Linked DNA regions of Homo sapiens: all the other regions are linked to region 6. The links are contacts of gene promoters, found by promoter capture Hi-C in blood cells and fetal thymus (Javierre and others, 2016). All regions are on one chromosome and are shown on one strand. Each heading gives the region's core, a stretch centred on a gene start or on the middle of the fragment in contact. The rest is flanking DNA. Distances are from core to core; before and after follow the strand shown. Region 1 overlaps LOC107984449. Region 2 holds the start of LINC00943 (long intergenic non-protein coding RNA 943). Region 3 overlaps LINC00944 (long intergenic non-protein coding RNA 944). Region 4 has its middle 17 kb from the start of LINC02372. Region 5 has its middle 27 kb from the start of LINC02372. Region 6 holds the start of TMEM132B (transmembrane protein 132B).

Region 1 (4,401 bases), core at 1,538-4,037, 1.9 Mb after region 6:
GCATGTCTTTTGTTCATGTCTTTTGTACATGGTTTTGTGCATGTAGTCAAAGCATTCACTTATGAATGGTACCTGTCTTTTGATTCACATGTGTAAGCATTTTTGTAAAGTGGAGTCAAATTCCACTAAAGAGTTGACTTTCTGAGTCATGGTGCATGCTCATTTTTGGCCATAGTGGATGCTGACAGAGAGCTTTCCAAAACACCCCAGCCATCTATGAGAGTTCCAGTGGCTCTATGTCACCACCAACACTTGGCATTTTTAATCTCTTCGTTTTAGCAACTCCGGTGGGATGCACATTGGCACCACCCTCTCACTGTATTTTTATCAAACGTTATTGACATTTTGGATTAGTCTCTCCTGCAATCTGCAAACAGTGGCAGAGTTATCTCTTTCTTTCCAATTGTTGTATCTGTTAGTTCTTATAACTCTGGGAAAATACTGAGTAAAGTCGTGATATCAGGCATCCTTCTCTCATTCCTCATAATAGGCAGAACAATGTCAATATTTCCTCAATTGAGTAAGGTTCTGTTTCATATGTTTTGAACAAGTTTTTTATACATTTAAGGAAATTTCCTTCTGTTCCCAGATAGCTCTGAGTAACTGATCATACTGGGTTAAATTTTATTAAATGTTTTTCTCCTTCAGTGAAAGAATCATGTTCTATTTGTTTGCTTAATTCTGTTACTGTAGTGATTATATTGACAGGCTTTTTAAACGTAAACTAACCTACCATTTCCATAATAAAGCCAACCTATTCTGTTGCCCAGGCTAAAGTGCAATGGCGCAATCTCAGTTTACTGTGACCTCCCTCTCCCAGGCTCAAGCGGTTCTCATTCCTCAGCCTCCCCTCCCGAGGAGCTGGGATTACAGGTATGTGCCACCATGGCTGACCAATTTTTTATTTGTGCCTTTAGTAGAGACGGGGTTTTACCATGTTGGCCAGGCTGGTCTCGAACTCCTGAGCGCAGGTGATTTGCCCGCCTCGGCCTCCCAAAGTGCAGGGATTACAGGTGTGAGCCACTGCACCTGGCCCTGAACTCTTTTTATAGTGTTTTTGCCATGTGTTGGGACCAAGGTTATGCTGGACAATAGAGAAACTGTGTACGTTTTTCCTCTTTTACTGTGGAAGAGTTGATGTGACATTGATGTATTTTTTTTTTTCTACTATCTGGAAGCTTTCTAAGCCTGGGTATATTTGTGGAAGAGTGTCGTAAGACACTCTCGTTTTTTAATATAATGTTTATTTTTCTTTCTTCTGTTTTTTTCTTTCCACATTTTTATTCTGATTAGCCTAGCTGCCAAGTTATTTGTATTTATTTTCCTTGCCATTGTAGGATTTATTAAAATTGAAGCAAAATTTATTTAATTAGTTTCGGGAGACTCTCAGAATCTCCTCTAATATTCTTCTCTATTCTCTTTTCTAATTTTGACACTGATTACACACATTTGTCAGGCTATTTCTCCATTCCAAAAATGTTTTTATATGTTTAATGTCCATTTAAACTATGTTTTTATGTTTGATTCCTCTCTGTTTATATTTCCATCTGACCATTTTCTACTGGCCTGTATTCCCAATCATTAATCATCATCTTAGTTTTGCCAAATACGCTGTTAAGCCCACATATTTGTTTATTAATTAAAATCTTGTATATTTTAGTAATAGAATTTCATTTGAATAATTGTATAGAGTGCTCTTTTCTGTTAAAATTTTTCATCTCATCATCTATGTTACTGAATATGTTTATGAGGGTTTTTAAATAATATTTTATTTTTCTTGTGTTTGGTAATTTCCTTTGGTAAACCTGATAGTTTTTAAAACAAATCTTTAATAAGACTTTTTTTTTGAAACGGCTTTGCATGAGCTTAGCTTCTGGGAAGCAGTTAGTGTGTATGTATGCAGGCTGCATTTGTTTTTCTATTATCTGATTAAGAAGACTTGAGGCTTGTGTTCAGTTTTTGTAAGTCTTGAGGGATTATTTTTTCTTGCTTATAGGATGCAATCTTTTAGTATAAAGCTTGAGTCATTTACCGGGGCTATGTTTCTTGCTGAGTTCTGAACCCAACTGTTTTTCCTTCCACATTTAGGGATTGCAGAGGCTCTGCTGACTCCTCAGCCTCCTAACTGCTGCTTCCTACTTGATTCTTTTGCCTCTTGGTCTTTATTTATTTATATAAATTTAATATTTTATTTATTTATTTATTATATATAAGGAAGTATCTTGAGCATCAAAGGAGTTTAGAGATTTCCAGGTTCACTTTTCCTTCCTAACTGATAGGTTGGCTACCCTTAACTGTACATTCAGCCTTCCCAGAACTGTAAGATCAGTAAAAGCTCTGCCTGGCATTTGCTGCATTTTAGTTTCACTTTCTATTTAGCATCTCGGGTTTCTACTCTTCACTGCTTATGAGTCAGCAAATATCGCAATGATAAGGCAGAATCAAACGCTGGGCTCACCTTGAAGTGCTTCCTTTCTCTCCTAGGGACAATGTTTCTCAAAACCTGAGGAAACAAGATAGCTTTGCAATGCTTTAAACAAACGTTATTTCCTTTGGTGCTTTACCAGTTAATTAATGTAGTTGTTCTAAATGGGAGGGTTGATCTACTGTAAACTGACCCATCACCACAAAACTTATGTTTTCTGAGAACTGTAATTTTCTAAATCTCCACAAATAAAAATTCCCCTATTTGAATGCATCTCTGCATTATTTTGTCTTCTTTGTGTTCAATTATGGAGCTAGAAACCTCCAAAGAGTTTAATTAAAATTAATCTGAACTTATTTGGGCGTAAGGGACAGCTCACAGATGAGAGGATAAAGCGAGAGTATAAATGACACCAAAAATCATTTTTTAATTCTATTTTGGGAAAGAATATGGTCTGCATTATTCCATACTAAGTTCAAAGACCTATGCCATTCCATAGAAACAAACTGTGTCGCATCCACACAATTGAATATTGTTTAGCAATAAGAATGAGTTTTCAGGCCACAAAAAACATATAGAGGAAACTTAGATGCATGTTGCTAAGTAAAATGAGTCAATCTGAAAGGCTGTATACTGTCTGATTCCAACTATATGGCATTCTTCAAAAGACAAAACAAGGCAAAATGACTAGTGGTTCCCAGGGTTGGGGGGTGGGGAGCGATAAACAAATGGAACACAGGGAATTTTTAGGGCAGTGAAACTATTCTGTATCGTGCTATAGTGGTGGATACATGACATTATGTAGTTGTCAAAACCTGTAGAATGTACAACACCAAGAGGGAACCCTACTGTAATGATGGACTTTAATGAATAATAATGTATGATTATTGGCTCACCCACTGTTAACAAATGTACCACATCAATGCAAGACGTTTATAATAGGGGGACCTGGGAGGGGTGAGGGAGTCTGTGCAAACTTTCTTTACATTCTACTCAACTTTTCTATAAACCTATAACTGCTCTTAAAATAGTATATTTAGAAAGGAAGGAAAACAACTCCCAAAAACAATAAGTACTATACTCACAGTATTGCACTATGCAATTAGTCATAACAATATAATTAAATCTTTTCAAGCTTGGCATTTTATAAAATTCCTCTGGATTTAGCTGTTAGGTTTGTATTATGCCACTCGAAGTGGGTTTTTTTTTCTATTTTTTTTTTTTTACAACAGCATTAGCTAGGCAAACAATGAAATACATCCTGGTATTTTAGGTAAAAGAGCACATCTGCATGTATTAAACACTCCCAGGATGTCAATCAAGATAGGAAACCACTTGAGATGGAAGAGATGGAATAAAATGATTTTCACAGGCATCCTCAATTGTCTGCAGCTTTATTGGAACCTAGTTTTGATTGCTGGGATTACCCTGAGCAATTAATTGCTTCTTTTTGATATAAATACCTTGCCTCCATTGGTTCATTCTTACAGTGGAGCTCCACCATTTTTCACATGATGAGTAGCATACTTGAAGTGATTGTTCTAGCATCTATTTCCAGGGAAGTATAATTTATCCGAAGCAGAGAGCTGACCTGACCACCAGCAGGAAAACCTTGTGGTAAGTTGCAAGGTCAGAAGTAGCAAAGTCTATCAATGAGGGAAAATAACATCCTCTTCTGGGAAAATTCAGTCCCTTTTAGCACAGACAGTGATCCCTAACTCTGGCTAAGCATTGGCATCATCTGTGGAGAACTTTTTGCAGTTGTCAACTTCTGGGGGATTCTGATGCAGTATGTATAAATCTGTGTGCTGCACACACTTCCCAGGTAACTCAAATCATGAAGGTTTGGGAGCCACTGGATGGATACATGAGCTCTCAATAAGCCCTATAACTTTACTGGTCCAACCTTGTTGGCATGTGGTAGCTATACTACAAGCCAACATATATGCTGAGAGATTTTCACCAACACCATATTT
Region 2 (4,792 bases), core at 1,071-3,570, 1.6 Mb after region 6:
TGGAGGACCAGCTTAATGCCAGTGCCCACCACTGCTTACAGGCTGGGATACTTGTAGGTATGGCAGGGAGGGGTCTGGGCAGTATGGCGTGCTGCCAGGGAAGATGTTGAGAAGACGTTCCCACAATGAGGCAGTTGGGGCCTTGTTCCCACAGAATGTAATAATGATGTTCCTTGGACTTTTTCTCAGCAGAATGTGTTAAAGTCAGGCGGTTGGGCAGGCAGGTTCTCATGGCCCGAACCCTCGTGGAATGTTTCACTTTGACCAAGGTCTGCATATTGGCAGGGAGCTTACAAAATGGTGCATTTTGGATTAACAGGTCTCAGTCTTGGGCTCCTCGTTGTCTGACAGATCCTAAATCTTGGCCCCTGCTGTTCCAGGTTCTCTTCTCATCATGCATGTTCTCTGGGTAATTTCATTCACTCCTAAGGCTTAAAACATCATCTCTCTGCTGAAGGCTTCTAAATCTCTTTCCCTAGCTCGGAGCCCTTTTCTGAGATTCAGATCCATGTGTAGTTTGATCTGGTGGGCACTGGTACTTTTGTATTCCACAGGTATCTTTGGCAACTATCTACTTCTTTCTATCTTCAGGGCTATTCTTTCAGGGTCATTCTAGCAGTCCCTAGCAGAGTTTACTGTCCTTGTCCCCGCCTGCTTTTGGTCCATTCTCCATCATTGTAGAGAGATATATTTAATCAAATCTTCTCATTCATGATTAGGTCATGTCAGTGCCTTTCCATTAGTCTTTGGATAAAGGCTAAGCATTTTAAAATGCTTAATGGCTTTTTGTGATATGACTCTTACCTAAAACTCTCCAGCTTGTGTTTTGCAGTTTGTCCCTTCTCTTGAACTTCATCTTTCAGTCACACTGAACTTTCAGGCTCTCCTAATGGCTATGTGTTCTCATCCTCTGGGCATTTACCTCTGCTGTTCCAGGAAATGGTCTTCAACATCTTCAGATACCTAGAAGGTTTGCCCCTCAGTGGGAAGAAAGCTTCCAACTCCCAGCGGTTCCAGCAGAAGTCCTGGGGCTGGAGAGCTGTTCCTGAGTTGCCTGTGATCACATACCACACCTGATGGCATCACTGTATCCAGGCTCCAGGTGCATAGAATGTTGTGAGGTCATGACTGCCAGCATTATGACCAGTCTTGGAACTAGGATTGGGGTGGGGTTCATCCCACCCAGACCACAGAGACTGAAAATAAGAAAGGGGTGAGGCCTAAGGGACAATCAGGATGTTTTTCAGAGAGAAGTGTGGATGCTGGACAGGAAGAACCACAGATACCAGATACGGGTACTGTTGTAACTCTGTTCTCCATGAAAAGTAATTTGCTTTTGCTTGATACTAATCTTTTTGCCCTCATACTCTTGTGCGTGGAGTTTATCTATCCACCTCCAACAGACACTCACACACCTCCCAGTCATTTCTTATCCTTCAAAACCAGCTCAGACATGTGCTTTTCCAGAGAAAAGATTGACGTTCTTCCCTCCCAGGCTGACTTTCCATATGCAAAGTACACATGTAGACACTGCAATGCATTACACACAGCATTTGATTTGTGGGTCTGTCTTCTCCACCACATGAGCTGACCAGAAATCATGCCATCTACATTTCCACATCCTCAACAAGTAGTTAAGACCTGGCACAGAGGAAGTAGTGCTTGATTAGGTTTGGGGAATAAGGGATATAGTTTTTTTGTTGTTTGTTTGTTTTTCGAGATGGTGTTTCACTCTTGTTTCCCAGGCTGGAGTGCAATGGCGCGATTTCGGCTCACCGCAACCTCCTGGGTTCAAGCGATTCTCCCAGTTTCCTCCAAGGCTCTTGTGTAAACTGTTCTTATTGAGACTTTGGGTTGGAGATTTCTAAGGCTTGTGGGATAATAAATCTTCTATTTTTTTTCTTGAGTTCCTCTTTATAGGTTTTATTCCACAGACATTTCCTGAAACTTTACTAATTAAAACAATGATGAGGCCTGCTTTGGGTACTTAACAGGACTGTCTACTAGGGGACACAAGAGAAGGACATGACAGAGCCTGTGACTTTTACCAGCCATCAGTTCAAAGGGAAACTTGCAAACAGCCTGCAGCTGGTTGAAGGATCAGGAAGGAAATAGTTCATCTGAGCACAGCCTCTGGAGCCTGAGTTCAAATCCTAACTCACCCCTTGTTAGTTTTGTGCCAGTGGGCAAACTTCTTAACCTCATATGACTCAGTAGATGCAAAGTACTTAACTCATGCTTGATGTATAGTTAGCAATTAATAGTTAAGATTAATTTAATTACCTATTTGTGATTATTTCAAACTCATTTATCTCTTCTTTTTCTAAACTCTGACAATAGTTAAAACTGTATAAAGCAATTTTAGCAGTGCATAATGCATTTTCATTTATGCATCAGTATTTATTGTGAGCATATGTCTTCTCTTCCCAACTATATTATTTGTTTCCAGGGATAATACTGTGTCTTCCACTGTGGATATGTGTTGGCTGTGTCATACGTGTAACAGCGGCCTTTACATAATTAGCTCTGATAGAAATGATACTTACATCTGTTTTTTTCTGTAACATAAGTTAAACATAATATAACAGTAATATAATACCATGAAAAAGACGGCAGGAGTGACAGTTAAGCTCCTGAGCTGACACTGTTTCAACTCTTAAGAAGCACCCATTAATACATCAACAAGTGTTATGGCCATTTTTAAACAGTCTTAATTTCCTTAAGGTAGTTGCGTTAATCTTCTGGTACTGCCATAAAATACCATAGGCTGGGTGGCTTAAATTTTATTTTCTCACTATTCTGGAGACTGGAAGCCCAAGAGCAAAGTGCCTGCTGATTAGTTCCAGGGCTTTCTTCCCAGCTTGCAGACAACCACCTTCTCACAGTGTCTTCACGTGGCAGAGAGAAATAGCGAGCGTTCTGCTATCTCTCCTTATAAGGATCCTATCAGACTACCACCTACTTTAACCTTAATTACTTCATTACTCCAAACTCAGCCAGATTGGATGTTAGGGCTTCAACATACGAATTTTGGGGGACACAGTTCAGTCCATAGCAGAGGTCTTTCCACAAGAAAAAAGCAACATGATTGTTCTATCTCTCTAGTTTTTGTAAATCAGTCCATACAAGAAACTGGCTTCCCCAAGTTATCCTGGATGACTTGTATTTTACCTTTTTAACAAACAAATTAAATTACCATATTGATGAGGAGTCAATGCCTAGATCGGGGCTATAAACTCACCCTGGGTCCTGGTATTCAAATGTATCATGGGGATTCTGTCTCCATCTCCAGTGCTGCTTTCCCCAATGTCGGCCTTGTTCTCACACAGTTCCCTGAAGGGGTGACAGGAAGGCCAGGCAGGGGACACAAATGAGGCAAGCAGTCTGGGCATGGGCAGCAGGGAATGGTGGGGACTGCAGCGAACCTTAGGACAGAGGCCCCATGTAAAGGGCTCAGCAGCCACTGAGGGCCATCTGACTAGTGCCAGGAAAAATGTATGTCCCACTTTCCAGATCTTTTTATATTTTCAAAGAAAAGCTAGAGAGCTGGATTTTTTAAAGATTGACAACTAATTAGATGTTAAAAATTGTGTTAGATTAGAAGAAAAATGTCATCTAGCATGGGATCTATTTTGGATCTCTAGCCTAAGCTTTTGGAGGAAATTGGTAAAACTGCCAAGATCACATTGGTCGGGGGTTAACTTATGTCTGATTTTTTCATTGCTACTGAGCTTATTACTGAGGACCCAGTGTCATAAAGTATTTCTATTAGATCATTCATGGCACTGGGTTCAGACAGTCTAATCTTACAATGCTAAAAAAAAAAGAGTCAATTCCAACAGTAACTTTTTTCTCCAGAATAATTGCTTAAATATCTGGTACACTCTGAGGGCACTCTTGGTTTCTCTTTTTTAACAAGATTACTGAGTTGAATAAGTCAGATTATGTTATTATTTCACTATTTTGTTTGGGTTTGGGAATGAACAATTGTTAATTTTTTTCTGCTTAGCATTCCTTTGCCCTTCCTGTCCTAACAGTATCTAAGAATGCTATGGAAAAACACCACCTGTCCCCTACCTTCCAGCTTTGTACTTCAGAAAAACTGACCCTTTTTTAGGCCTCGGTAGGGGGCCTCCTGGCATAGGCTGGGCTACTCAATATAGTCTCCCCCTAGGCCACAGTGATAGGGTTAGTGACGACACATGACCCACTAGAGACAATGACATGCTGCATGGCTTATTCCTTCTTCTACTGTGACTTGTGGAAAAGGAACCCTAACCAGTTCTTGATGGACTGAACAACATTTAGGAGATGGTGTTCTTGTCACCTTGTGGAGCTTAAGCAAAAAGCCACACCATGGAAAGCAGGACTGAGAAATGAATGAAAAAGCATGTTGGTGCCATTGGTTGCACCTGAATCCATCTGAGCCTGAAGCCAGTCTACTCCTAGTGACTGCATGTTTTATAGAATTCTTTTAAAAGAATCCTTACTGATATACATAATGGCCAAAGAAGAGGAAGATCAGTCTCAATTAGTGAGAAGTCCAAAGCAAATGGACTCTGTGGATGGTCCCATCAAAATGAAGTCAAAGGTTAAGGGCACATTTAAGTTGTCTCATGGTGTGTTTTTGGTGGGTGGATAGACTATAAAATCCCACTTAGCACAGAGAAAACAAACTGAACCTCAGAGGACTTACGTGGTTTCTCTCAGTACCTACAGTGGGCTCATGCAGGCCTGGGGCTCCAGCTCAGGTGTCTCAGCTTCTCAGGGCATCAGCTGCCTCCTATTCAGG
Region 3 (4,848 bases), core at 622-3,121, 1.6 Mb after region 6:
TGTAGAAATCAATTATCCAAACTGGGGACTGGAATTCCAAGATACCCACTGGTGGTCGTAGCTCCCTTTTGCCTAAATCGGCTGCCATTCACGACTTAGCGAAGTTGCAAAAATTTCAGATGGCACAAGAAAAGGAGAATGCTGCAGAAATCTCTTTCTAGAGTTGATTGATTGACTGAAAAGAGGAATCATCTCCATCATAACATGTCTTTTAATTAAACTATTAATTTTAATATTATTAAATATTAATATGTGTATTAATTTTCTCAATGCCAATCTGACTACCCTAAGCAGACTCTAAGCTCCAAGTAGTCAGAAAATTTTCATCTTCTAAATTACCCAGCAAAGAGGGCAGCTGATAACAGATATTTTTAATATGTTGAATGTTTACATGAGATCAAATAAAATTTGACTTAGCTTATGATTTCATGAGACATTTTGAAAATTTTGATAAAGGGGTGTGGTGAAACATAAGAATTACTATGTATCTTTCTTTACAGTCTCATTACAATTAGGCCTAAACATTTTAGATGTTTATAAACAATGTTAAAACAAGGACATTTATCTGATAAGATCTGGTATCCATAAGAATGTTACATTTATGTCTGTCTTAAGATAAAAAGTTTGAGAAAAATTTTTTTGACAGCAAGAAAAATTACTTGAATTCTAGAGATCTAGAAAGATTTTGAATTCAAGTGAATGATGCTCTTTAAAATACCATTCTAACATCCTTAGAAATATATTTCCACTAAATGATTATAGGGATGGACAATCAGCCGTGTTTCCTGGAATGCTTAGCCGGGCTGGGATGATCATGGCTCAAGATTTGGCTTTCCAGAGCACAGCAAAACAAAACAACACAAAACAAAACAAACAAACAAACATTCTCTTTAAGGAAGCTGTTCAGGAAGGCTTCATAAGTACTTTTCCAGGGCTGATAGCATAAAACCCAACCCCTAGACATAGCATGAGGCCTTTCCCATACTTCTCCAGATTAATTCTTTCATTGATTAACTCCTTCCTTCTTCCTCCTGGCCCAAAGAACATATCCCAAAGCCACAAAAATAGCCATCTTTTCAGAACACCTTGGGCCACAGGTAGATGGGATTATTGCTCCTAAATTTTTATTCTTCTCTACATTAGAATCTATACCCTGTGTGAAGTGAGTTTGCAATTCCTCCCACGGAAGCTTGGCTGGGCCTTGTATTTTGGTCAATGAAATGTGAGCAGAAGTGACTGATTGCAAGAAAAATTCTTAAGGGTTACTGAAAAGCTTCTGTCTGTTCCTCTTATGCTGTTGCCATTCTCCATGTAAAGAACATGCTGTACCCAGTAACTGCTTGCATGAAAAATGAAGAAACACCTGGAACAGACCTATACTTGAGACTAGGGTTGTCTGTTACCCAGCATTGTTGCAGCAATAGCACAGTTACACCGTTGTTTGTTTCTCTCCTCCTTTGCCAAACCCATTTCTATCTCAGGCTGAGGCCATTCCCATTGCCCAGGGACTTTGCTCCTCCCCACCAGTCTCACTTCCCCTCCCCAAATTATTCAACAAGATAATGTGCTCTGTTTATTAGGTTTTAGCTTAAATGTCACATTTTTGGGGTGAGAGAGGGGAAGAGAGGGCTTCTTTAACTCTCAGTATAAATAATGACTTTGCTTTGTGTTTGCTGTCTTGGTAGCTTGTTTATATTTTTCTGCAGCCCTTATGACAATTTAAAATCATATTTATGTGTGAATTGGTTTCATGTCCTTCTTTCTCTCCTAGCCATGGAAACAGAGATCATGTCTATTTTATTTCTCACCATACAGGCAGTACATATAGTGGCTAAAGTCATGGGGTTCTGGAGGCTGGGTGAAAATTCCAGCTCTGCCCCTTACTAACTATTAACTATTGACAGCTGTGTTACTCAGCCATTTAGCTTCCGTTTCTTTACTTCTACAGTGACGTCATAACAGAAAATACCTCACATGTTTTTCATTCAGAACAAGAAGAAAAGGCACATAAAGCACTTAGAATAAATTTCTATATCAACCCACTCCGTTGGCATTGTTAGTGTCTTATAACCCTGATCATTTCAATATCTGCACTTAGGACCCACTGTGTAAATATCTGTTGGATGAATGGATGCATGCTACCTCCTATGATGACAGTCTATTATGACAGGGCCTTGTCTTTGGTCATAAGGTAAAAATGTGGTGGGTCAGTAGACGCCTGGTTACTCTGCAAGTTTCCCAGCTCCAAGAGTATTATCACTAGCATGTCAGTATCACTCTTCTTCATATCCTAACAGAAAGCATCCTAGCATGTTATCTGGTGGGGAAGGTGATGGTTATACATCTTGTTGCACAGTAGACAAAAGAGAAGACTACTCAAGGAAGAACACTATCTTTGGAGAAGAGTGGGATGAAACTTGGGAGGCATCTGAGTTACACTGATTTTTTTTTCTTTTTACCATATAAACATGAAGCTTTGGAGACAGAAAGGGTGAAGTTTGATTCTTAAATGCAAGAGGTGGGCAACTCCATGGATGAGATATTTTCACATTCATGTAAGCACGGCTTTCAGATGTGAGCTCACCTGTGGATGAAGCCCCTTAGTCCTCAATCTTCCTCTGCATCAGGCTGTCTTTATCTTGTCTGCAGTGCTTCAGTCAAGGTGATCAATGACCTTCTCCACATGTTTATTCTGCGGCTGTGGCCGACACTGTTTCAATTAACACAACAGCCATTTTCACCACCTTCTCCTTTGTCCCCTCCCACTAAAATACCTGCAAAGCCAGGCACTCACTTTACCAAACTTCCTTCTAACAAGAGGTGGCCATGTGACCCAGTGCTGGCCGATGAGGTCTTAGACAGTCATTTGAGATTTCTGGGAAAACTCTTGCCTCCTTAACAAAAGGAAAAATATGATAGGAACCTTCCCTCTTCTTTCTGCCATGAAAAGGCTGTGATGGCGAAAGCTGTGCAGCCATCTTGTGAACATGATTTGCTAAGCAGGAGAATGAAAAATCAACATTGGAGGATGGCAGACATGGATTGTACAAAGGGCCCCTGTTTTTGGTTTCATTGCTAAACCAATGCATCAATCTAGAATCACCTACTCACAGTTTTCTCCACTAGGAGATACGTAGGTGCCTTGACTGTGTGAGCCATTATTTTAGCAATTTCTGTTACTTGTATATAGAAATGTCAGAATCGTTATAGCACTGAATATTTGGTTCTTCACTAAACCCCTGAGATATACATGATAGGGATATGGTACCAGTGACTCACTTTCTGAGTAGACAATGAGACATATATAAGTAAAACAGAAAGTGATAGAAGAGAACACACAGTGGCCACATCTGTCCAGCTCATTTGTTCAATTTTCTACATAATTTATCCCCAAAGTACTGAATCTGGAAACTTTAAGTTCTACTTTAACCATTTAAAATTTCCCCATATGTTAGATTTGGAAACTGATCATTAGGGAGTTAAAGTAACTCTCTCAAGGTCACCAAATCAATAAAAGGTGGAGCTGGATTTCTAAACAAAATCTTCACCTCCTAAGTAGCTGCTTCTGAGCCCCATGCATTATTGCTGTCAATTAACCTAATTAATACTTAGTGTCTAAGTTACTTAATCTCTTAATTTTATTTCTTATTTTCTATATCAGGAACAAGCCAGAATACAACATTTATTGTTTCATTTATTTTTTCATTCATATTGCCATTCTTTTATCCAATCTTCTTTGAGAGTTTACCAGATAGTTACTACTTTTTCTTGATCTTACTGGTGAGAACATTGAGGCTCAAAAGGATTAAATGATTGCCCCAGGGTCACACAGTCTATAAGTAGCAAAGCGGGAATTTGAATGCTGACCGTTCACCTGTGAAACTGTCCCTGTAAACTTTAGAAAATGAACCAGGGAAGAAGGAAGCTGGGGAAAAGGAACTGAACCCAGCTTGCAGCACGCTTAGCATTCACCATGAGGGAAGCCTGCTCTCTGAACTGCTTCCTGCTCTCTGAACTGCTTCCTCATAGCTGTTTGGTGCTGATTGCCTCATAATCACATAGAACCTGTTCCAAGATTAGAGTTCCATGTAACTGCTCTGTAATTAACAACTTGAACATTGGAAAATATTGTCCACTTGGGATACTGTGCTAGTCCATTTTCATGCTGCTGATAAAGACATACCCGAGACTGAGTAATTTATACAGGAAAAAGGGTTTAATGGACTTACATTTCAATGTGGCTGGGGAGGCCTCACAATCATGGCAGAAGGCAAGGAGGAGCAAGTCATATCTTCCATGGATGGCAGCAGGCAAAGAGAGAGCTTGTGCAGGAAAACTCCCCTTTTTAAAACTGTCAGATCTCATGAGACTTATTTGCTATCATGAGAAGAGTATGGAAAAGTCCTGCCCCCATTATTCAATGACCTCCTACCAGGTCCCTTCCAAAATACATGGGAATTCAAGATAAGATATGGGTGAGGACACAGCCAAATCATATCAGATACCCTTTCAATCTGGTATACCAGTGAAACTACTAACTCAGCTGGTCTGAAGGACCCTGCAAGAAACTGTCTTACCAAAGAATGCAGTTTCCATGTCCTGATGGTTTATCCCTCCTATCCTAACCAATCAATGACCCCAATCTTCCAGCCCCTCAACCTCCATGAACAGCTCCAGCCCAGAAACCCTTGCAGAGATGGAAAAAACAGTCTCCTTCCATCTCCTCACTTGGTGCCCTGCAATTATTAAACTCTTTCTCTGCTGCAAACCCTGCTGTCTCAGTGTATTGATAAGTTACTATGCAGCAGGTATACACATCTGTTGGTCCTTTAACATGTATTCCATTAT
Region 4 (4,885 bases), core at 6-2,505, 1.7 Mb after region 6:
GCATTCGTAGTGGGGCCAAATTAACACTAAGCTAAAGTAAGCCTGGGTCCTTACTAACAAAGCTTAAAAGCAAGTATTAAAAAGGCCAAACTGTCTCATAGCAAAGTGCATGAATATTTATGCAATAATGCAATAAGAAAATCCCACAACATAATGTGACTTTTACACAGTCTGGCAGAAAGAATGACACCAATGATGGAATGATCAGGCAAAGGTACTAAAACAGTTATCATTAATAGGGCTCATATGTTTGAGAAGATAATGATTCAGTAGACACATGAAAGGAATTTTTAAAAGACACAAAACAAACCTTTAGAGAAGAATATTACAATGACTAAGAAGAAAATGACATGGGATGGGATTAACAGCAGAATAGCTATTACAAAATCAAGGATTAGTAAACTTGAGGACATAGCAACAAGAAGTATTTCAAATGAAGCACAGAGAGAAAAAACAGCTGGGGAAAAGTAAAGCAGCAGATAATAAAATCAACAGTATTAGATTCACAAATTCATCCCATTCTGAAAAGTCCTAAAAAGGGGAATAATATTGCTACATTCAGGGAAGTGGTCACGTTGAGGAAACATTCTTTTAAAAAAATAAACCCTACTTGAAAGATCTTCATAATCAACAAATGGACCAACAACAGCTTTGGTGATTCTGAAACCCTGGAAAAAAAACCTCAGTACTACATCTAACTTAAATACTGCCCTAAATTTTTGGTAAATTCTACGATGTTTTTCACTTTAGTCAATAACCATTTGCTGCTGAAGAGAGAAGGAAAGTAATGAGGTTAAGAAGTGGCATGCAGGAGTCTGTCATGTATCTGTGATGTTTCTTTACCTTGATAGGCTATACATAGACCTGCTTTTATATTCTCTCACCCCTTTTCACTCTGGCTCATCGAATCCTGATTTTGTATTTTGTAGGCAGTAAACTCTTGCCCTCAAGGAAGTAAGCCTCCATCCTTTGTCCAATCCTCAAATTTAAACTGGTCAAGCCTCCCTCTTTTGTCCAATCCTCAAATTTAAACTGGTCATGATTATATCTTTCTAATTGGTTAAGAGACTGGCAGTTCACCCAGTTCTAGCAAACGAGATGCAAGGGAAAGCTTGCGGGGGCTTCTGGGCAATATTTTATTTCTGGATAACATATGCCTTGGTAGCAAGGAGTCCCTTAACCATCTGCTTAGATCAGTATCTTGTAGCCAAGGGCAATAAGTTCAACATCACAAAGCAAAAATTCTTAATGTGGCAGAATGCAAAGACAGTAAGTGACATCACTGAGCTGCTGAACCATTTGGACGCCACCAATCTCTGGACTTCCTGTTGTATGAGACAATGGGATGCCATCCTTCCATATTCCACAGTCAGTGAGAGCATGGAGGGAAAGGTGACAGAGAAGCTTGTTAGTAGAAAATGCCAGGTATCTTAATGGTCCTTGGTGGTCAAGTGTGGAATTGCATGATAGGGAAGAATCCCTAAGCACCACAGACATAAGGGAAGTTTGTTTATACTGACCATCTCCTTCTTGCTGGTCTCCATCTAGTGCTTCTGAGAAAGATTGGATGCAGAGCAGGACACCTGAAAGACCCCCACCACCCCACCGCCACCCCACTTGTTGGTTCAAGTAACAAGGATTGAATGTAGGACACTAGAGTAGGTACCTGGAGTAGATAATCCACACTTCAAGACTTGCATAGAGGCAAGTAGTAATGAGATGCTGCAAGTAACAGACACACAACACATGCCAACTTGTACTCTTCTCTTATATAAAGCAAAATTCACCTGCCACGAGAAGAGGGGCCAGAATCCTGCCTATGAATGGTTTCTAATGCTGCTTTGACAGGAAGGCTAGAATGGTACATAACCTCCCTTGGCTACATATATTAGTTGGTTCTCACGCTGTTATCAAGACGTACCTGAGACTGGGTAATTTATAAAGAAAAGGAGTTTAATTAGCTCACAATTTTGTGGACTGCACAGGCCTCTGCTTCTGGGGAGGCCTCAGGAAACTTACAGTCACGGTGGAAATGCAAAGCGGAAGCAGGCATGTTTTCGCATGACCCATAGAAAAGAAAGAGAGGCAGAAGGGGAAGGTGCCGTACACCCCTTTTTTTTTTTTTTTTTTTTTTTTTTTTTTTTTTTTTTTTTTTTTTTTTTTTTTGAGGCAGAGTCTCACTCTGTCCGCGGAGGCTGGAGTGCAATGGCACGATCTCGGCTCACTGCAAGCTCCGCCTCCCGGGTTCACGCCATTCTCCTGCCTCAGCCTCCCGAGCAGCTGGGACTACAGGCGCCCGCCACCACGCCCGGCTAATTTTTTGTATTTTTTAGTAGAAAGGGGGTTTCACCGTGTTAGCCAGGATGGTCTCGATCTCCTGACCTCGTGATCCGCCCACCTCGGCCTCCCAAAGTGCTGGGATTACAGGCGTGAGCCACCGCGCCAGGCCACCACACACTTTTTTACAACCAGATTTTGTGAGAATTGTATCACGGACAGCACTAGAGGAATGGTGCTACATGATTAGAAATCACCTCCATGATTCAATCACCTCCTACCAGGACCCTCCTCCAACACTGAGGATTACAATTTGATGTGAGATAGGCGTGTGGACACAGAGCCAAACCATGTCACTATATGTTAAACTTCAACACAGCACAGCTGCCTATAGAGCAGCGTTTGCTTGTTGCTTTGAAGGCCATTTAGGACGTGCATATGCAACTTCTTGCCTTGTAACTTTGTCATAAAATTCTTTTCAGCAACAGCAGTTCACTTTTTTATAATAGTATTTCCATAACTATTATTTCAGAAAGACTATTAAAGACAGGTATACTGTAAACACACTAGAGGAGAAAAAATAAAAATAAAAATAAAATTTCCCTAAACACCATAAAGAAAAAAGTGATTAGTGCTTTTTTCCCTCCTTGGCATTAGAAATAGTTATTGGCTCAAGAAATGGTATGTTTTAAGTCAATGGATTCCCCAGCATGTGGGCGTAATGAGAGAAATGAAAACGATGACAGCCTGGGGCTGAGTATCTGATTTCCAAGGCAGAATAGAAGCTCAAATGAAGGCATGTGCCTGTCTATCCTGTTGTGTAAAGAGAGAATGAATGAGAGACTAAGGAGCTTATGTCAAATAAAGTCTTTAGCTTCTGATGTGGACGTTGGATTCTCAGAACACCTGGCTTGTGGCTGATGGCTGCTCTCCTCATCTTCCTGATTGGGTAGCTAGTCAAATTAAAAATAGCAATAATAATAACAAGGGTAGAAGAGAGTAGAGTCATGCTTGGGAATCAATCTAGTAAAAATTGGGATTGTGTAGATAATAATAGCAATGATTAAAAACCAATGCATTACAGAGTGCCCAAAATGTGCCAACTCTAAGATAGTTGCTCTAAGCAATATTTTGCGTGAATTAACTGTCTTTGCTCCCCAATAATTTTGTAAATTATTTTTTGACGTTATCATCATTTTGCAGGTGTGGAAATGAGTGCACTAAGAGTCTAGATGCACAGTTTACATTATACAGTGATGATGGGAGTGGTTGGCACTCAAACCCACCTCCTGTGTCCCAGTTCTGACACTGTAAGCATTTACATTTCTCTGCCTCAGTAAATCTCTTTTCCAGTGGAGCAGAGACTTATTTCTGAGCTCATGGGCTTGCATTGCCTTTGTCCCCTGCTAGACCTAGGTGTTTTTTTGTTTTGGTTTGGTTTTTTGAGACAGAGTCTTGCTCGGTCGCTTAGGCTGGAGTACAGTGGCACAATCTCAGCTTACTGCAACCTCTGCCTCCTGGCTTCAAGAGACTCCCATGCCTCAGCCTCCTGAGTAGCTGGGAACACAGATGCGCACCACCACACCTGGCTAATTTTTAAATTTTTAGTAGAGATGGGGTTTTGGGGTTTTGCCATGTTGGTCAGGCTGGTCTCAAACTCCTGGCCTCAAGTGATCCACCTGCCTCTGCCTCCCAAAATGCTGGGATTACAGGCAAGAGCCACTGCATCCAGCCAAGATCTAGTTCTAATGCCAGTGCTTTGCCTGTGACATTGATTTCCAAAAGCAAGATAGAAAATAAGCATTTGATTTTTGTATCTAAACTATTTCTCAAGAGTTTGAGTGAGAAGGATTTAATCCCTGCCTCCCTCGTCTTAGAAGACAATGAAATCCTCCATTGAGATTTGTGTTTTTCATCATGCCTCAGAACAGTATTTCTCTGGCTTTTCCTGGCAACTCTGATGTTCCCCAACAAATAACCTTGATGTTCTGTCTGGATTTCTCAGGACTGTGGTTGAAAAGCAGGAAAGCTCACCGTAATCTAGTTTAAGCAATACTGGGTAATTCATTTTGTCATGAAGCCATGCTATGCACAAATGGATCTGCCAAGAGAACAGACTCCCTTGGACTCTGGGATGTCAACATCACCAGACAACATTCTTCTTCTTTCTCCTGATCTTTCTTCTGTTTTGTTTCTATAATTTGATTCCATTTTCTGCACTGCAGAGATGTTCTTTCTAAGCCAAAGGAAAATTGAGTACAGGAAGCCCTGAACTCATACTGTAGCAGTACATTCTATCAGGGAGGAAGAACGGGTCATTCCTGTCAGCTCCAGATTGGAAAATCCCAAGGAAGAACTCAGGAACCTCTGCTTAGATTATGTGTTCATCCTTCCACAAACACTGCAGCTAGGAGGATGGCTGCATGACCCCCCTGCCTTGGGCCTGAGACTGGTCAATGCACAGGGCTTGTCACTGAGGGACAGGACTGGCCCTGGATGAAATAAGCAGTGCTCCACTGCCAAGCAGCAAAATGAAATGACTGACAGAAAGTTTTAGTTATCTCCTGTGGTAAACAAAATAAGAATCCCCCCAAAGATGTACACATCT
Region 5 (4,531 bases), core at 567-3,066, 1.7 Mb after region 6:
CAGAGTTCCTTTTTCTTCAGGGTTGCTTTACTCTTTTTGATTTCTTGGTTTTTTGTTTGTTTTGTTTTGTTTTGTTTTGTTTTGTTTTGTTTTGGAGACAGGGTCTCACTCTGTTGCCCAGGCTGGAGTGCCGTGGCAGGATCATAGCTCACTGCCATCTTGACCTCCTGAGCTCAAGCGATCCTCCCTCCTCAGCCTCCCAAGTAGCTGGGACTACAGGTGCATGCCACTATGCCCAGCTGATTATTCTATTGTTATTATTTTTAGTAGCAATGAGGTCTTGCTATGTTGCCCAGGTTGATCTCACACTACTGAGCTCAAAGCTGTCCTCCTGCCTTGGACTGCCAACGTGTGTTTGCTTGTTTTATTTTTTGTTTGGTGTCATTTACGTTGAAGGGTGTCCTCGTGTGTGGTGGTCTTTTTTGCTTGTCCATGTCAGAAAGTGGGAACTAAGCAGTGGAGCCTGCGGCTGGTTGCCGGGGCTGATCCCTGTAGGGTGATCTGCTGGGTTGTTTCATTCCTGAAGCCTTCATGCCGGCTGCTTTAGGCATTTCTTCTTGCCTTGGTCAAATTCTTCAGAGAAGGAGCATCCGGTCTCCTGTGAGGAGGGTCTTGATCTGCCGTCATCACCCTGGAGCACGGCTGAGGAAGAGACTGTGCATCCCAGTGTTCAGTGCACCCTTGCATGTGCTCAGTATGGACGCTCATTTCCAGCCAGGCCGGAGACTTTCTCTTTGCTGTCTGCGGAGAAGAATCCAACATCAGTGAGGGCGGGTATCTGTTCTGTGCGGGAAACGCGCAGGGGAGAAGAAAAGACACACACACACAATACCTTTAAGGGTAAACAGCCTTTATCCCAAGTATATGGCAATACAGATACAGTAAGCAAATCATATAATAAGCAAATGATACAATACGCAAATTACAATGGGAAGGGGAGAAGGGAAAAGATGCATGTATTTACACTCACCAGCCTATGGAGGATTCACCCCCAGACCGGGAAGGAGCAGCCTGGGTTCCAGAGTCGGCCACTCGTCCGTGCACGGCCGAGGAGAGGTCTCAGGAAGCTTCGGCACAGTCTGGGACCCGAGCTCTTTTTGTAACGAGTTGTTTGGCATGAGGCCCAGTCACGAGGGCCCCTTGCGACTTGGCTCAAGGAACACAAAAAGGTCAACTCGTTTTTGCAATTGTCTATCGTTTTTCAATAACTGACGTATAGGAATACATCAAAATAGAGATTTCTCTGAAACAGCGCTAGATGAACGCCTCAAGGTGCTCACACAACCTGTTCCGGGACTTGGTGACCATTGTTTGTGTCCACTTTCAATTGAGTTCAAATTTAATATTTACCTTTTCCTCCACAGTATCCAGGTGCCTGGAACTGGGGAGGGGGGCAAACTCTGTGGAATAAATGTGATTGCTGTTTGACTCCCCTTCCCTCCCCACTGGTATAGGATTTAACTTGCTGGGACCCCCCACTGTTTGCCAACTTCCGTTTCTTGTTTGTTTTTTTTTATTACATCCTCTCCTTTTCCCTTTGTCTCTTGGGTTTATGACTTACAAACAGAATCAATATTTGCATTTTAGTGGTGTTTGGGAAGGAGTGGGGGGGTACAATTTGACATCTTTACTAAATGCTGATTAACCGATCTTTTTTACAATTTCATTTGAATAATTTAATGTTATGTAGACCACAGTGTAATGGGCTACAAAATGTAAGCTTTTAATTTATTTCATCCCATATGATTACTATCAATTTCTTGATTCTTCCATTATGATGCTTTCTCAGCTATTAGTGTCGTCTAACTGCCAGTAAAACAGACAAAAATTCAGCGCCAAGGGTTCAAGAAGACAAAATCAACTCCTTTTCTTTCTTTGTTTTTTCCCTAGTAGGTATAGTTTGTTTGTAAATCAAGCTTTTATGGAAATGAAGGGGAAAAACCTGCTAACATTCTTTTTTCTGCCTTAACCTCCTAGGATGAATGATTCCTTGTACCCTCAATGTTTTGACCCTCAAAAAAAAATCCATTTTAACCAGGACATCTACATAACTTTGCTCCCTGAAGTCCTATGGAGCAGAGGCAAAAGGTCAACATATTTTCATAATGTACATTTTTTCTTACGAAAACATATTTCTTGAATGGATTTTATGCCAAGTAATAATTAGACCTAATCCCTAGGTCTTCATATGTTAACCCTGCACCATGATTAATGATTCTGTAAAAAATAAGTAATGTTTGCATTTTCTATACACCATCAACCCAGCAGAGGAATAAGAGAATGCTTTCAACATTTAGTTAACCCTACGAGTGAGAGAATTATTTGACTTTTAAAATTAAAATAACTACTGCACATCTTGATTCTCATCACATTTTTCTCTTTATTACTGTTTTTATCCTGTTACCTGTCACTCGTATCACAGGAAATGATGCATCCTTTTTTTTTTTTTTTTTTTTTTGGCTTTTCAAAAATTTTAATAGCTTATTCCCTGTTAAAGCTAAGAAATACTTTCCAGTATACCCTACCTCCCAAAGTATCAGGGATTTTTTGTTTTTTAATCCAAGAGAGATTTATGAGATCATAAAACACAATCTTTATGTTCTTTGCTTCCCTTTTCCCAAAATCTAAAATTATTCAGAAATATTTAACCTTTTCTTGATTTGTAGCCATTACAGCTAATTGGAGGATCCTGCCATAAAATGATGGCCCTCTGTCATGTGTTGCCTACTTGTTTAATTTAGATTTGTGGTTTCTTGAAAGCCAACTGAAAGTGTTTGACCCCTCATAGGAAAATCCTGTTGTGAATGAGAAGGATTCCACAGATCACATACCAGAGCGGTTTTGCCTCAGCTGCTCTCAACTTTGTAATCTTGTGAAGAAGCTGACAAGCTTGGGTGAGACAATGTTTTGCATGATGCATCCTTTATAAGAAATAACAATTTGCTACAATTAGCAAGATTCATATTAAACGGTTAAAGAAGTATATGCTTTTTATTGACAAAATTGAAAATTATATAGGGAAAATCTTTCTTTCTTTCTCCCTCCCTCCTTTCCTCCCTTCCTCCCTCTTTCTCTTTCCCTTTCTTTTTTCCTTCCTTCATATACATGTTAGCATTTCCTTTATGAACAAAGAGGAAGAAGAGAGAAATGTCCTCAGAGGGGAAATATGTTCAGTGATCTGTATTTAATTCACTCGTGTATATTATGAACCAGCTACTATTTTAATTTCATATTCTGTATTTGAAATTCCTAATCACACTTTGTTTCACTCCATCTGCTTTGCCCTTCCCCTAAAGCTTTATTTTCCTTTACTGAGTCACCTTTTATAATTTACTGAGAACTCACAGCTTTAATTTCAAGATGATTACTCTCTACTTCTCTGATGACAAGAGTTAAGAGACGCTGATGTAATCGCAAAGGAGAGGAATTCCACCTACCTGCAGGAGTTGGCCTAGCAATTCTCAGAAGGTAGGAACCAGAAGGGGCAGCCTCTGAGAACTCCACCTTCAGGGCACTGGCACAGATCCTGACACTGGGGAGGGTCAGTGTGTTACAGGAAAGGGGTCCTGATCCAGACCCCCAGAGAGGGTTCCTGGATCTCGCACAGGAAAGAATTCAGGGAGAGTCCATAGAGAAAAGTGAAAGCAATTTTATCAGGAAAGAAAAGGAAAAAAAGAATGGCCACTCTGCAGACAGAGGAGCCCTGAGGGCTGCTAAATGCCCATTTTTATGGTATTTCTTGATGATATGTTAAACAAGAGTTGGATTATTCATGCCTCCCCTTTTTAGACCATATAGGGTAACATCCTGACGTTGCCATGGCATTTGTAAACTATCATGGCGCTGGTGGGAGTGTAGCAGTGAGGACAACCGGAGGTCATGCTCATCGCCATCTTGGTTTTGGTGGGTTTCCGCTGGCCTCTTTACTGCAACCTGTTTCATCAGCAAAGTTTGTGACCTGTATCTTGTGACGACCTCCTATCTCATCCTGTGACTTAGAATGGCTTAGCCTCCTGGGAATGCAGCCTAGTAGGTCTCAGCCTCATTTTACCCAGTTCCTGTTTAAGATGGAGTTGCTCAGGTTCAAATGTCTTTGACAAATGCACTCCCCACGTGGATGCTCAGAGTCTCATGGAGAGAGTTCGCAGCCCTGTTCACTCTTCTAGGTTTTTGGAGTGGTACAAAATGATATAGAAAATTAGGTGGTATTTTACAATCTGCAGTACAGTGAAGGGGAAACTGTTCTACTCTTTACCTGCATTAAGTTTATAATTTAATAGCACCTTTCTGAATTTCAACTTTGGTATTTAACTCAACCAGGCTGAAAAGTTTCTTCCAAAGCTTCCAAATAGTACATTAATAGTCCTGGTTTTAGAAAGCTGTTTAGCGACTTCAAATTCTGGATAGCATCTCTCCGCACAGCTCTGAATAAAGTTACCAATACCTCCTTATTGGAAATCTATTTCTGTAAATGAGACCTTCAGTGACCAAAATCAATCTTTTCATTTTGAGGTATGCTCTGAGAAGACAT
Region 6 (5,007 bases), core at 1,561-4,060:
CTATACTTAGGGGGAGATTGTAGGCTGTGTAATTCTTACGGTCCTGCCCAGGCTATGAGGCCAGCAGGCTGGGGGCGAGAGTCTAGGTAGGAGTGAGAGGAGAATTCCGCTCAGCCCTGGGGTCTCCTCGTTACTGCCGCCAGCCTCTCAGATTCCCCCCCGCCCTTCAGAATCCAGGGAGGCTTTTTTCCCCTGCTTATTTCCTCCAGAAACACCCCCTTTAGAGATACAGGCTTAGGGGCATGGTTAATATGCAGAAATCCTCATCCAACCACAAGACAGGCTGAGCCAGGCTGGAATTCTCATCCCTACCCCACGTATGAGCTCAGAGAGGATTAGGGGCTTGTCCAGAGTCACACAGCTGGGGCATGGAAAAGCTACCCTCAAAAGGAGATTCCTCTCTTCAGCGTCTGGCTCAACCACCATCAGCATATTTTAATGGGGAAGTGCCCTTCCCCACTGAAAGGTGCTTTCTTGGAGTATGACCAGGTAGTCCTGAGTGTGGGGTTGGGGGGAAGGCAACTGCCATCTGCCATCACACCTGGGACTGTGTGACCACTGGCTTGGGGACTTGCTGGACTGATTCACAACCCTCTCCAAGCACCGCCACTAAAGCCACAGAATGACCCCTTACCCTGCCAGAAAATGACTTTTATCTTTGGCCACAGTCTCCCAGCCTCACTGACCTGCTTCCTGGTCAAACACACGGTTCACCTTGGCACCAGCACCCCGCGGTCACTCCTGCTGTGGCTCTCCCCTGCTGTCGTCCATTCATTTCTGCTTCACCATCCCCTGCAGAGGCCGGCACACAGTAGGTGCTCAGCTCTGCAGATGCTTATGAACAAGTGAACAGGAAAGAGGTGTTGGGGGCAGCCGGGCACAGAGGACCCTAAGAGAGTCCTGACCACGTCTCCAGGATCATCCTCTTATCTGGGGAAAGGGTCACAGAAAGGGGACAGATGGGCCCCTCGCAAGGCCACCCTAAGCCCGAGGAGACCCCCAATCCCGTCGTCCAGCCTGTTGTATGGCTCTCCACACATTGCAGGCCTTGCCAGGGAGCCCAAAGGGGGCTTGGCCTGGGCATGGGCCCCTTGTAAAGGAAGCCGATTAACAGCCACGGGAAAATCCCTTTACGTCTCCTAATTAACCTGGGCTGGAGACTCACCACCTGCCCCTGGCTTTCTTCCTTCTTTTATCTAGGAAGAACTGAGTGCTGCCTCTGCTAATGAGCTTGTCTGTACTAATCAAGCAGGTGCCCTGTCCCCCATCCCCTCTTGGCAGCCGGGAGTGGGGAGGATTGTCCTTCTGATGTGAGCTCTGGGCCCGCAGAGGAAAATCAGATCTATCATAATAATGGCCATGATGATGAGAATGATAATGTTGACACTGACTCCTTTAAATGAGTTCCGACTTCCTAGGTCAGGGGCTTTGTATGTGTTATTGGGGACACCAGGTGATGTGCAATGCCTTCCATCTCTCAGATGAGAAAACTGAGGCTCAGGGAGGAATAAGGGACTCGCCCCAGCTTGCACAGCTAAGGAGCGGCAGAGCTGGGATTCTCAGCCAAGACTCCATGACTCCAGAGCCTTCCCCAAATCTGTCTTTTCATCACCCCACGCTGCCTTATTGACCATTTTCAAAGAGTTTGACCCACTTTTTCATGGAAAACTGAGATGGCAGAGCAAGTGGCTGGTGTGGTGGGGGCTGGGGCGGAGCCAGGACTCCAAGCCACCCTCCCAGGTGGGCAACCCCCCATATCCCCTGTCCTCCCAGCGTGGTGGGGAAGCTTGAAGGCATCTGAGCGCTGCTGGAGGCTCCCCCACATGCTCCCAGCATGACTCATTCATTCGGCTTAGCCCCCCGTGGCTTTGCCCTGGTTGGGGGTGGGGCGCCCAGGAGGATCAGTGGTTTCTGGGATAATAGGTACTGGGGCTCCGTGTGACCTGTGACCTCCCTCCGCACTCTGGCTGCGTCCCTGCCCCTGGATGGAAGAATTCGACCACCTAGTACCCGGCCCTGCGCAACACCTCCGCTCCGTCACTGCCTGACCCTGCGCTGGGAACTCATTCCCGGGACCGCCAGGGAATCTGCCCTTCCCAGGAGAACTCCTGGCTGCCTCCGCGTGCTCCTAGGGCCTGCGCGAAATGGGAAGGCGCATCCTCTAGCCTGGGTAAATAAGGGACCCTGCCTCACCCGGGTGGCCATCCCCAGGCCGCCTTCGCTGTGTTTCAGGTCACCGCACCCAGCCTGCGCACCCCTAGCCCCCATCCCGGTGCCGTGCAGAGGCTCTGCACACAGCCTCGGCCTCCCGGAGGCCCTCCCCTCTCTCCTCTCCCCTCTCCCACAGGCACTCCCTAGCTGTGCCACATTTAACCCGGGACCTCCTGTCCGCGCTCAGTCTTGCAGTCTCTGGCCCCGGCAGACACCACCTCTCCAGAGGTCGCTGCCCCATCCCGGTGACCCTCCGCTGGCCTCCTCACCCCTCGACCTTGGCAACTCCTACCGCTGCGCCCCAAGACGCCGGATCTAGCTGGGCATCCCCTCTCTGCATTGCGCACCCCTCCCGCAGCCCCTGTACCCGCGAGCGCCCGCGACCCCCGGCGGGCTCCCGGAGCCTCCCGGCCGGGCGCCCTCCCCCGAACCGCCGAGCAGTGGCGCGTCCCGCCGCCTACTGGCCGGGCTGCCGCCTGTGCCCCGGCTCCCGGGCGGCCCCTCCCCCGGCCGCGGCCCCGCCCTCCGCTCCTCTCCTCCTCCTCCTCCTCCTACTCCTCCTCCTCCTCCTCCTCCCCCCGGCGCTCGCTCGCTCGCTCACTCTCTCGCTGGCTCGAGGGGCGGCCGGCAGATGGCGATGGCAGAGGCGGCGGCGGCGGCGGCGGCGCGACCGGGATGGGACGGGCGCTGGGGCGCAGGAGCCGCGGCGGCGGCGGCGGCGGGGGCCGCGCAACTCGGGCCAACTGCGGGGCAGCCGGCCAGGGCGCGGGGCGCTGAGCCTCGGCCGCCCCAGCTCCCCAGCCACGCACGGCCGAGCCCAGGAGAGCGCGCAGAGGCGCAGCCGAGGAAGCGCCGCCAGCGCCGGCGCATGCGTCTGGGGAGGAGCGGCGCGCTGGGAGCGAGCCATGCCCGGCGCCCGGGCGTAGCCGCCGGGGGCTGCTCCGGGAGCCGCGGGCCGGGCCGGGCGCGCGAGAGGAGCAGCCCCGCGCCGCACCCACCGCGCGCCGAGGACCATGCCGCCCCCGGGCCGGGCGCCGCCGCTCGGGCTCCTGCTGGCGCTGACTGCGCTCCAGTGCCCAGGTAACGCGTCCCCGGACCCCATCCCCGACCCCGGCCGAGGCGCACAAAGTTGGGTGAACGGGCGGCTACCTCCTTCTCAAGTCCCTGGCAGCGCGCATCTCCCGGACTTGGACAGACCTGGGGAGACCCTGGGAACCCAGGAGCCCCCGGCGCGTTCCCCTTTGCCTAGCGCCTGGGGAGAGCCCGCCTGCCTTCTCCCCCAAACCCTTAGCTTCCTTGCGGATCCTTTCGGGACGCACGGGGGCCACAGACCGGGGCACTCAGCCTCTCGAGGCGGGTGGGGACGCGACTGCAGGAATCGAGCCCCCTCCCCGCCCTGCCTTGGGCCAAATCCCCCCCAGGTCCCAGTTCCTCCAGGGGTTTTGCTGGGCGGGGGCGTCGACGCAGCCCTTCTCCAGTGTCTTGCTGCCCGCGGTCGCACAGTGGTGCGTTCCCGGGACACCTGCGGGCCCCGGAGATGTCTCGGCCGGCGCTGTCTGGCTTGTCCGCAGCCCCTCCCCACGCCCCGCGGCCCTCCCCTGCTTTCACACTGCCCTCCCCAAGCTACCCACCCTCGCCAAATGGCCTCCTCTTGGCCAAAGAGCAGCCCGCTGCGCGCCTCCTGCAAACGCGGTCTACTCCAGCGCCCTGACCCCAAGGCGGGCGGGAGAGGGTAGCCGCGGCCAAGCAGTCCAGGACGCGCCGGGGAGCCTGGAACGCGGTGCTGTCCAGAGCCATTGCCTGGGCACCGGGGAGCTGGACTCCCTGCTGAACCAGCTCAGCTGTCGCCCAATCCTAGTGAGTGGGAAAAGCAAAATAGTCAGGTATTGTCTGTCTTCGCTGGAGTTTGGAAAGCTTTCTACCCACCTTGGTGTGGCTACATGTTGGTTCTATAGAAAGCGTATCCTAAAATGACAATTCCTCCCCTCCCCCCACCCCATGCAAGCAGTGGAGAAAATCCTAAAGGCTCAGATGAACCCCGGGAACAGTCACGAGCAGCCTTCATGTGCTTTTGAAATCTCAGTTCTCCAAACCTTTTAAAATCAAGACCCATGATTTGGGAACAGGTAGCTTTTGCTTTAGAAAATCTCTCCCCATTTCCTTAACAAACAAATCGCACAGACAGGCAGAATGCAGTAGAAAAATACAACTATAACTTTTCGGCTTTCACTGTCTTGGTAAGGTTGCAGTTAGGAGCAAACCTGGCATGTCAACTTGATGTTCGATGTATTTTATTTGCATGGAAAAAGTCAGTGTCGGCTTCCTTTGAGATGCCCTTAAGTGACCCAAAATATTTACCAACACCTTCGACTTGAAGAAAACCTTCTATTGGAGATCTCCGTCAGCGTTCGGCTTTGGTTCAGCCTAGAGAATGGCATTGGGCTTAACGTGGATGAATCTTGCCTGCTTGGCTAAGGAGCAGCTATGATAGCTGTTTTGCTTTCGGCATTCCTCTGCGGTCCACGAGAGGGGCTGCTGCTGGGGCCGAGGCTGTTTTCTCTTAGCTGAAGCCCTGGGACCTGTTTGCAAAAGTGCAGTCCCTCGGACTTGAAAATTGCAGTTTTGTCTCTATTTTGTTTCTCCACGGGGGTCAGCATTTGCCTGGATGTGCTTATAAGTGAATATCGGAAGTCTCTCAGAGAAGCTGCCTGCATAATGCTTTGTAAGAGAATAGGATGGTCCCCCTACCACCCCCCCACCCCCGTCCCCCGCCCTCTCCCCCAGCAACAGAAGAGC

What was found. Contacts are between HindIII fragments. The CHiCAGO score rates a contact against its expected background, and 5 or more counts as called.
Region 1: a contact is called between a fragment that was not itself captured here and the fragment with the promoter of TMEM132B in region 6, in 1 of 17 cell types (endothelial precursors). The highest score is 5.1, in endothelial precursors.
Region 2: a contact is called between a fragment that was not itself captured here and the fragment with the promoter of TMEM132B in region 6, in 1 of 17 cell types (M0 macrophages). The highest score is 7.4, in M0 macrophages.
Region 3: a fragment that was not itself captured here is called in contact with the fragment with the promoter of TMEM132B in region 6 in 1 of 17 cell types (M2 macrophages); the score reaches 5.6 in M2 macrophages.
Region 4: a contact is called between a fragment that was not itself captured here and the fragment with the promoter of TMEM132B in region 6, in 1 of 17 cell types (activated CD4 T cells). The highest score is 6.0, in activated CD4 T cells.
Region 5: a fragment that was not itself captured here is called in contact with the fragment with the promoter of TMEM132B in region 6 in 2 of 17 cell types (non-activated CD4 T cells and naive CD8 T cells); the score reaches 5.3 in non-activated CD4 T cells.

Annotation. Positions count from the first base shown.
Region 1 is chr12:127,081,137-127,085,537 of GRCh38, forward strand. The region is part of intron 1 of LOC107984449; the gene reads left to right. Among named protein-coding and RNA genes, the nearest start is that of LINC02405, 23 kb to the left of the region's middle. The HindIII fragment of the contact is 1,542 bases long and covers 2,017-3,558 here.
Region 2 is chr12:126,735,862-126,740,653 of GRCh38, forward strand. All of the region lies in intron 3 of LINC00944 (long intergenic non-protein coding RNA 944), which reads right to left. It overlaps LINC00943 (long intergenic non-protein coding RNA 943), which reads left to right and starts at 1,146. Exons shown (of 4, transcript NR_038256.1): 1 at 1,146-1,295. The HindIII fragment of the contact is 2,656 bases long and covers 993-3,648 here.
Region 3 is chr12:126,758,348-126,763,195 of GRCh38, forward strand. The region is part of intron 1 of LINC00944 (long intergenic non-protein coding RNA 944); the gene reads right to left. Among named protein-coding and RNA genes, the nearest start is that of LINC00944, 11 kb to the right of the region's middle. The HindIII fragment of the contact is 1,201 bases long and covers 1,272-2,472 here.
Region 4 is chr12:126,855,723-126,860,607 of GRCh38, forward strand. No RefSeq gene overlaps it. Among named protein-coding and RNA genes, the nearest start is that of LINC02372, 17 kb to the right of the region's middle. The HindIII fragment of the contact is 293 bases long and covers 1,110-1,402 here.
Region 5 is chr12:126,899,525-126,904,055 of GRCh38, forward strand. No RefSeq gene overlaps it. Among named protein-coding and RNA genes, the nearest start is that of LINC02372, 27 kb to the left of the region's middle. RefSeq lists an enhancer at 2,853-4,052. The HindIII fragment of the contact is 196 bases long and covers 1,719-1,914 here.
Region 6 is chr12:125,183,576-125,188,582 of GRCh38, forward strand. TMEM132B (transmembrane protein 132B) reads left to right here and starts at 2,811. Exons shown (of 9, transcript NM_001366854.1): 1 at 2,811-3,291. The coding sequence starts at 3,225. RefSeq lists an enhancer at 2,012-2,545 and a silencer at 2,594-2,803. The HindIII fragment of the contact is 2,339 bases long and covers 1,785-4,123 here.